3 separate regions of the Homo sapiens genome follow, and regions 1 and 3 are each linked to region 2. Evidence: promoter capture Hi-C in human tissues and cell types (Jung and others, 2019). All regions are on one chromosome and are shown on one strand. The core of a region is centred on a gene start or on the middle of the fragment in contact, and the rest is flanking DNA. Distances in the headings are between cores, read along the strand shown.

Region 1 (2,808 bases), core at 130-2,629, 1.7 Mb before region 2:
AGAACATCTATTTTTTTTGAATAAAAGTGATTATCATTTATTGTTAAACTAGCAAACTAGCATACTGCCAAAATCTTCTGTATAATTATGGCTAGCACTCAAATAAAGACTTTTTCCCCAGTTTTCACCCATATTATTTTGTTTCATTGATTATGAAAATTAAAGATCTACCCCACTGTCCCTGCCCCAATACACTCCTCATGATAGGAAGAAGTAGCTTTTTTTTTTCACACACTGGAAAATTCCCCAAATTGATTTAACATTCAGTAATAACTAAGTTGAGTATATGTTACATAAAAAAATAAGAATCCTGAAGACATACTTTCCCTTTTTCTTGTGTCTTAAGGGCTGATCTTGTCTAAAGCATCAGGTGTGGGTATGACCTCATGACTTCTGAAATCCAGCAGTGACTGTCATACATGTTCTATTCTCTCATGTACACTGGGCTCCTCCATGATTCTGAAATGTAACTCAGAAACTTTCTCTTCTACCAAAGAGAACACGTGGTTTGTGTATGGGGGGGTGAGGATAGTAATACTGTAGTTCCTTTGCTGTATCTCATCTTTAATTTTCTCTGTCCTCACTCTTTCACTTATTAATTTTAATTTATGTTCAGGTTATCTCTAGCTTCCTAGCAGACTCTCCTTCCAATAAGTATCACTGTTAGGGAAACATTTTTTGGCATGGACATCTGACTTATTTATGACACTAAGTTCAATAAGAATTCATCTTTTTGGTATACCATTAATTCTGTGAAAACATAAATCCATTCTGTCTCAGAAATATGTGATTATAAATAACAGAACTTCCTATTATGGCAACAAACTAACAGGTGTTTTTTTTTTCTTATATAAATAGAAGTAAGAAGTTATGCTGAGGATGGTAAAGTTGCTTAATTTTAGAATTTTTGGAATTTTAGGCTGTACTTATCTTCATGCTTTGTCTTTCTGAAAGCTTAGGTTCTTATCATTATTCTTGTCAGTGTACTATCAGTAATCACTTGACATCTGAGATTATGTGGCATAAGGCAGCATTTGAATAATAAAAGTTTTGTTTTTAGTCTTAATATTCTTCCCCCAACCTGCATCCAAAGCATAGTTTCCATGTCTTCAGTAGTCAACATAATCAATTGTTTTGTGGACAAATATACAGGCATGTGGAAATCTCAAGCTGAGAATTCAACAAAACATCCATACACATTAAATCTAAAGGTTAGACTGAAAATGAAGATGGTAAAAGGTGAGAAAGTGACTACTTCTTTTTCTCAGCCCCAAGGATGTTCTCACAGTGGATCTAAATTAAGTTTATAAATAGAATATAGGATGCCAACAGTCACCAAGTTAACTGTCAGGGACACAGTGCCAAATTATGTTTAAGATGTACTTACTTAATATTTCTCCTTCAAGCAGCCAGCAATGATACGATATCTAATCCTTTGGGCTGAAGAAGCTGTAGGCGAATGCCATCACCTCACTCCTTTTTTTTTTTTTTTTTTTTCCTTGAGATGAAGTCTCTCTCTTGTCCCCCAGGCTGGAGTGCAATGGTGCAATCTTGGCTTACTGCAACTTCTGTCTCCCGGGTTCAAGCAATTCTCCTGCCTCAGCCTCCCAAGTAGCTGGGATTACAGGCGCCCACCACCACGCCCGGCTAATTTTTGTATTTTTAGTAGAGACGGGGTTTCACCATATTGGCCAGGCTGGTCTTGAACTCCTGGCCTCAGGTGATCCACCTGCCTTGGCCTCCCAAACTGCTGGGATTACAGAGGTGAACTACCATGGCCAGCCGGCCATCACCTCATTTCTTAAAGTGTCACGTTTACATCTTTGGAATAGCTAAGCAATTATTTAAATTATGTTTTGTCTATTTTGTTTCAAATTTTTTTTTGTTTTGTGTTATTTAGGGATATGATTCTATTAAAAGTCTGTCATAACTGCATCCATTATCCATAACGATTATTCCATAAGTATCAGCATATAAAAGATACTGCTGGTGGCTGAATAATTTTAATCTGCAAGTACATCCTCCCCCATGTTCCATCTTTCCAGAGTTAACTTAGTACCAAGGTAAAAATTATTTTAGGATTCTTCTAAAGGACAGTTGGCATGCTATATTAGTCTGCTCAAGCTAACATAATAAAATACCACACACTGAGTGGTTCAAACAACAGAAATTTATTTTCTCACACTTCTGGATGCTGGGTGGTCCAGGATCAAGCTGCAGGCTGATTTGGTTCCAGGTGAGAGGGCACTTTCTGGCTTGTAGGTGTCTTAGTCTTGGTTCTTGCTGCATCCGCACATGACAGACAGAGAGAGAGCAAGCAATCTCTCCAAAGTCTATTCTTATTAGGTTATTAAACCTATCATGAGGGATCCCCTCTAATGACCTTATCTAACCCTAATTGCCTCCCAAAGGCCCCATCTCCAAATACCATCATATTGGAGGGATAGAGTTTCAATAAGTAAATTTGGGAGAGACATAACAAACATTCAATCTATAACACTTCACTCCCCTACTTGTGGGCTTCTAACGTATTTGAAGAGTCGTAATTGTAAAGAGAGACATGGTTTAATTAGTTTTGTGCCTTGATATGCTTTTATGTTTCCTTTAAAAATATGAAAATCCAAAGTGGTGTACTTTTCCCCACAATGCAAGTTTCATATGGTAATATTAATAAAACTTTCAGATTTATGGTAGGTTTCTATTAAATTTTTCATACACATCACCCTAACTAGGGAAATGTTAAAGAATTCATGTAATGAGAATATATATATATATGTTGTCTTTGTACACACATGTATACATACATAT
Region 2 (3,099 bases), core at 562-3,061:
CATCAGAAAGACTTTTCAGCAGTTTCTAACGTGATACAAAAATCATATGATAGAAACTGTCCATTGAATTCAGGAGAAAGATCATTTGATTAACCATTTTGAGAAAAGCACCAGTGGAACAGTGGGAGTTGAAACAGGTTTCAGTAAGCCAAATCTTACACTGAACATAAAGAAGAGGCAGAGGTACAGACCACTCTCATGAATATTTACTTTATATAGAGGGGATGGGCAATAGATACAATTGGTTGTTGTTCTAAGGAGTTTCCTTTATTAGTTTGGAGAGGGGGAGATTTGAACTTACAGTAATGAAATGTTTAAAGGAAAGAGGCAATATAGAGAAGTTAACAAGGAGAGGAACAATCTGTAGAGCTAGATCTGAGGAGGCTCCTAGGAGGGAAATGGCATGCAAATGCAAATGGATAGATTTATTTGAGGCAACAGAAGGGATACCAATTTTTTTTTCCATTTCGACAGGGTTACAGGGAAAAGGATAATGTGGATATTGACAAGGTTATAGGATTTTAGGTGGTATTGAGGTAGCCCCAGTGAGGGCTTCAAAAGCAATGGTAGCATAGCACATAATTAGGAGCACATGATCTAAGGGCCAACCCTGGATTTAAATTCCAGCTCACCCTCTTACTAATAGCGTAACTTCAAGAAAGCAATTTAACATGCTAGCGCCTTGTTTCCCAGTGATTATAATCATGCCCTTACCCACCTTGAGTGGTCTAAAGACTTGATCAGTTAACACATATAAATTCATGTAACAGTGCTGAGCATAGTAAGCTCTATACATGTTCACCAGCATCAGAGTGTGAAGCACGGATTGTCCCACTTCTACTGGAAGTGCCTGAGTGTTGGTGGATTCAGAGATTTTAATAGAAGACAATTTGAAGGGAATACTGCAGAGCACAAAAAAAGCTGGTGCAACATAAAAGTCTTAAGCAGCTTTGAGGACCCAGTTTAAATTGGGGGTCACGGCCGGGCCTGGTGGCTCACGCCTGTAATTTCAGCACTTTGGGAGGGCAAGACGGGTGGATCACCTGAGGTCAGGAGTTTGAGAACAGCCTCCAATATGGTAAAACCCTGTCTCTACTAAAACTACAAAATCATTAGCCAGGCATTGTGGCATGCGCCTGCAGTCCCAGCTACTCGGGAGGCTGAGATGGGAGAATTGCTTGAACCCTCGAGGTGTAGGTAGCAGTGAGGTGGAGGTAGCAGTGAGCTAAGATTGTAGCACTGCACTCCAGCCTGGGCGACAGAGAGACTTGGCCAAAAAAAAAAAGAAAAAAGAAAATAAATAAATAAATAGATCTGGGGTCACAAATATGTATTCCAGCCATCTTCAAGCTTCTCCTCACTTCATCTGGTATAGATAGATGGGAAGAAGGCAGACAGTTGGGTCAGCCCAACTAGAAGCTGTGAAGGAACAACAATGAGGTGGTGGAATTGAGAACCCTAACAATAGATAGACAGTCTGAAGTAAGAGAACATGGAGACTAAGCTAGATATGTTAACAAATGAAAGGGGCTTTATAAAGAGAGAGACTAGAGAGATGAAGGGTAGAAAAGGTGGGAAATTGGTATTCTGCAATTTTCTGAGGAAGAAGGATAGGATATAAGGAATTATGGTAAACTGACTTCCATAACTCAAAGACACTGCAGACAACTTGAGGCCTTGCCTTCCCTGCACTGGACTGGAATACAACTGGGGAAAGGGTGGGGCCCATAGCAGGGAGAAGAATAAAGAGAATAGTGATGGAACTGGGTGGGGCAGGGCTTGAAGGCTGTGGGTGTGGGGCCCCATAATCATTTGGTCCAGGACAGGCAGTAGGCGTCAGGGGGCGCCCTAAGGCTCCACGGCATGTGCCTGTATTGCTGGGACATCGAGCCTTCCCAAGTCAACCCTGTGAGTCTGCTGGGGCCTACAACCTCAACTCTGCCACTCTGTCCTGTGCCTTGAGCTCCAGGCCACTGTGGCCTTGGCCATGGTGCTTCTAACTCTTGTAAATGTGGTTTGGTGCTGGGGGTTGGGAAATTCCAGGTGATGTAGACAGACTACATCCTGACTGCTGGACCCCTCTGAAACAAGAAAAAGCTCCACCCACTGTGTGCTTAGGGGTCAGGTACATCACCTGTATGTTGACTGCCCCATTGGCCTGCCCTAGGAGGTGGAGTGGAAATTACAGAAGTAGGGAGCAGGATAAAGTTCTCAATTGCCAGATGTGGAACAGATTGCTCTTGGGTCTTCTGGTTAAAAGATTGGATCAAAACGAGTGAAGGAGGAGTTATTTAAGGTACAATCAAGAAATAGAGGAAGTGGTGAGAATCTCGAAAACTAACAGCCAAGCTCCCTGTGCTTCAGAAAACCATACGATCTCAATCACATCACCAATTACTCCTAGGCTTTGAAACCAGATTGAAGACTAGATTGCTCAATAGCACCACTGAAGTCCTGTAGAAGCAGAAACATGCATTTTTCGATTTCTCGTACATTCTTTCCCTCCCGAATATATCTCTATACTCTGCCTTTTATCTGTAAGGTGGTTCACAGCTGGTTCTTTTTTATCATAATATCGTCTCCATCTTCCACCACAATTTTTATCTTAGATGTTTTTATTCTGAACTTGACTTTTTTCTTTTTGTTTTTTTAACCTGCTTCTTATAGTTGAAATGATTCATATAATACATAAATTTAAAAGTAGCATAGGCTTCCTATTATAATAATTAATTTACTGTTTTTAATGACTTTTTTGTGTGAATGTGTTTTAATTTTGTTTATTATATAGGAAGGACCAAGACAACATCATCCTTCAGAGGTCACTGAGCGGCAGGTAATGTTTAAATAAAGAACTAGGTTCTGGTTGTTTAAACATTGTGCTTGTAACTTGTTCCTTTATGTAGTGGTCCCTAACATAATAGAACTTGTATTAAGTAGACACTTCAGTATATTTCTTGGGACTCTGGGATCTAATGACTACTATTGGAATGGGTCTTAACTAGGGTAAACTAAATGGCTTATGTTATTTTTTAATGTAACATTTGACACATATACAAAAATAGATGTGGCAGATATAATTTATAAATTACAATATGCCTC
Region 3 (3,151 bases), core at 49-2,548, 1.0 Mb before region 2:
AAGGCAAGATGTGGGATTCAAAGCAAAGAATAGTTGGTTCAGACGCCCTTAGGAGGAATAATCAGAGTTGGAGGAACTCAATTGGCTTCTAATACTGTTTGGGGATTTCTGGAGATGAGAGACAGGTGAGATTCCCATGGAAACAGAGGAGAAAAGGTATATAAATAAGATTGCCCATCCAGCAGGGTTTCTTTATGATTAAGGTAATCATTTCCCAGGAAGAAAGACTCAGACCAGTTGTCTACAAATAAGAGCATGCAGATCAGGAGATAATAAGACAACATGACTCATTTAAAAGTGTGAGAATCTATTTATGCATTTGTAATTATGATGGACTACAATTTTTTTTCTGTGTTGTTCTCTAAGCACTTTCTTATATGCATATAACATTATGTTGTATTCAGAGACAAAAATAGAGTAAATAAATCTGGAAATTTGAAAAAGAAGATTCTAAGTTAAAATCACAGTTCTACCCAGACTATCCTGGGCAACATGGCAAGACATGTCTAAATACATTTAAAAAATTATTTACTCCATTTTTTGCCTCTGAATATAAAAATTCTGAATATAATATATTAATATATATAAGGAAGAAAGTGCTCAGAGAATAACATAGAAATATCATATATAGCCACAATAATTACAGCTACTCGGGTAGAATGAGACAAGAAGATTGCTTGAGCCCAGGAGTTTAAGGCTGCAGTGAGCTATGATCCTGCCACTGAACTCCAGCCTAGGTGACAGAAAACGATTGTTTCTCTGCTTGTTTGTCTCTAAAAAACAAGTGACAAACAGACTGCTTGTCTCTAAAAAACAATTTAAGAAAAAAAATCACAATTCTGTGATTCTGTAAGTTACTCATTATTTGATCTTGGCCAAGTCATTTAGTGAGCTGCTTCTAACAATACCTACGGCTATTTAAAAGATTGAATGAAAATGCTTATCCTAAATGCACACAATAGTTGTGTATTATTTTCCTTGAAGTTTTGCTTTTATTAAGTAAACTTAAATAAATAATTATAATTTCAACTCATTTATCATGATTATTAACACATTTTGCTTAGGGAGCCTAATTTCACCACACACTCTTACTGGTAAATTTGCAATAACTTCCGAAGAGCCCCAAGACTTCAGTGGGAGTTTTGCCTCAGTAAACAAGAACATGTTGGACTCATTATGTATTTTAATATAAAATGATATAAATTCCTCCCGGCATTATGTAAGTATAAGAGTGAATTCAATACTTATCCAAAACTGAATTGCACAATATTTAATATGTGACACGTCTTTGAATTACAAGTGCAAGTGATCCACATTATAATTTTGCTGAAGAACCCATTCCCGGCCGGGCGTGGTGGCTCATGACTGTAATCCCAGAACTTTCGGAGGCCGAGGTGGGCGGATCACCTGAAGTTGGGAGTTTGAGACCAGCCTGACCAACACGGAGGAACCCCGTCTCTACTAAAAATACAAAATTAGCTGGGTGCGGTGGCACATGCCTTTAATCCCAGCCACTCAGGAGGCTGAGGCAGGAGAATTGCTTGAACCCGGGAGGCGGAGGTTGCGGTGAGCCGAGATTGTGTGATCGCACTCCAGCCTGGGCAACAAAGGCGAAACTCCGTCTCAAAAAAAAAAAAAAAAAAAAAAAGAACCCATCCCCCTACAACATATTTTGTCTATCAATAAACTTTGTGTATACAAAATGGAATGTGTGTGTGTGTGTGTGTGTGTGTGTGTGTGTGTGTTTCTGATAACTAAAAGGGGAGAAAAGCTTGTCACGTATTTTTTGAAAGCTGAATTGAAGCAATAATTCTTCACTAATTTTCAATTTCTGTGATGTCTTACAGTCATTAATGACATTAAAGACCTTTAATAGTCACTAAGATTTGCAAAAAAAAAAAGTATAATAAGATGAATCTAAAGTTCAGGAAATGTGGCTCTTCTTACACTGATCTATACCAAAGAAACAAACAAAAACCCCCCAAAAACAAACCAAAAAAACCCCACAAAAATAAAACCTAAACAAAATGAAGCATAGACAAACAATAGAAGCCTCTGTTGTGTACCCATTGAACTATTCCTGCAATGAAAACAGCATCCATGGAGGCCAATTAGAGTCTTTGTTGTAAATTTCTTTGAAAAAAGAATCTTAAATGAAGAATTAATTTGGTCACAAAAGACAGAGAGCAATTTAATATGGTAAAGTGGTTTAACCTTTATAAGAAAAGTTCATAATTTAAGAATATATAATATGTGTGTAATTTAGAAATCTAACAGTCAATTCTTAGTCTTGTAGATTTTAACAAGATTGGAGAAATAACTTTTATTTAGTCAGTCAATAATGTATATACAACAAGGATATTCTTACGTGCCAAATACTATGTTGTTTTGGCATCATTTTTTTACTCAACGATCATTTGATTTGAGGTATTAGCCCCATCTTAAATATGAAAACAATTGGTTTAATTGGCAAGGTAGTTTATACAAGATCACCTAGAAGACTCAAAACAAGGGCGGTTTCACTTCAAAGTCTACATTTAAATAAGCATTTTACATTGGCCTTTGGACAATGATTACATGTGACAAAGCTCTTCTATTAAATAATATTATTTATAATTTGTTTGGTTCTGGATTCTTTATAAATCATTTGCATATTTCATTTTATCAGAGAAAATGATTAGATTCATTTTAAAAATAAAGACATTTGCTGAAGTAGATGAGCGGGATTTTACAATTCTAAGACACAGTTCTATTTAATTAGTTTGTCAATCAGAATATCTGGTCTAACTTCATTAACAAATTATTCAAATTTTATTCTCAACATAAGACTCAAGCTCAGTCTTATTTCAAGTAGAAAAATCAGCTGAGGTAAAGAAAAGGAGCTTTGAGATTGCTTTAATGCCTCTGCTTTAAAGAGATTTAATATTGAATAGCAACTCCACATATAAACAACCAAAAGCAACGGTTGACCAATAGAAATGGACAATTTCATTAAAAAAACAAGTAAACAATAAATATTTTCCTTATCCCAACTTGAACCTGTGTCTAAAATCAAGATATCTTTGGGTAGCTTGTTGTTTTCTCTCCATAATTTCAAATTCAAACTTCTATACACAAAAATAAAAATTTCACATATAAAGAAAATATTAAA

The links. Contacts are between HindIII fragments. The study calls those that stand out against the background at their distance.
Region 1: a fragment that was not itself captured here is called in contact with the fragment with the promoter of CCDC179 in region 2 in 1 of the 25 tissues and cell types used here (mesendoderm cells).
Region 3: a fragment that was not itself captured here is called in contact with the fragment with the promoter of CCDC179 in region 2 in 1 of the 25 tissues and cell types used here (heart right ventricle).

The regions. Positions count from the first base shown.
Region 1 is chr11:24,539,947-24,542,754 of GRCh38, reverse strand. The region is part of intron 1 of LUZP2 (leucine zipper protein 2); the gene reads right to left. Among named protein-coding and RNA genes, the nearest start is that of LUZP2, 44 kb to the right of the region's middle. The HindIII fragment of the contact is 5,551 bases long and covers 1-2,808 here.
Region 2 is chr11:22,859,186-22,862,284 of GRCh38, reverse strand. CCDC179 (coiled-coil domain containing 179) reads left to right here and starts at 1,811. Exons shown (of 4, transcript NM_001195637.2): 1 at 1,811-1,908; 2 at 2,789-2,833. The coding sequence starts at 1,864. All of the region lies in intron 3 of LINC02718 (long intergenic non-protein coding RNA 2718), which reads right to left. The HindIII fragment of the contact is 9,229 bases long and covers 1-3,099 here.
Region 3 is chr11:23,859,902-23,863,052 of GRCh38, reverse strand. No RefSeq gene overlaps it. Among named protein-coding and RNA genes, the nearest start is that of LINC02726, 130 kb to the right of the region's middle. The HindIII fragment of the contact is 4,922 bases long and covers 1-3,151 here.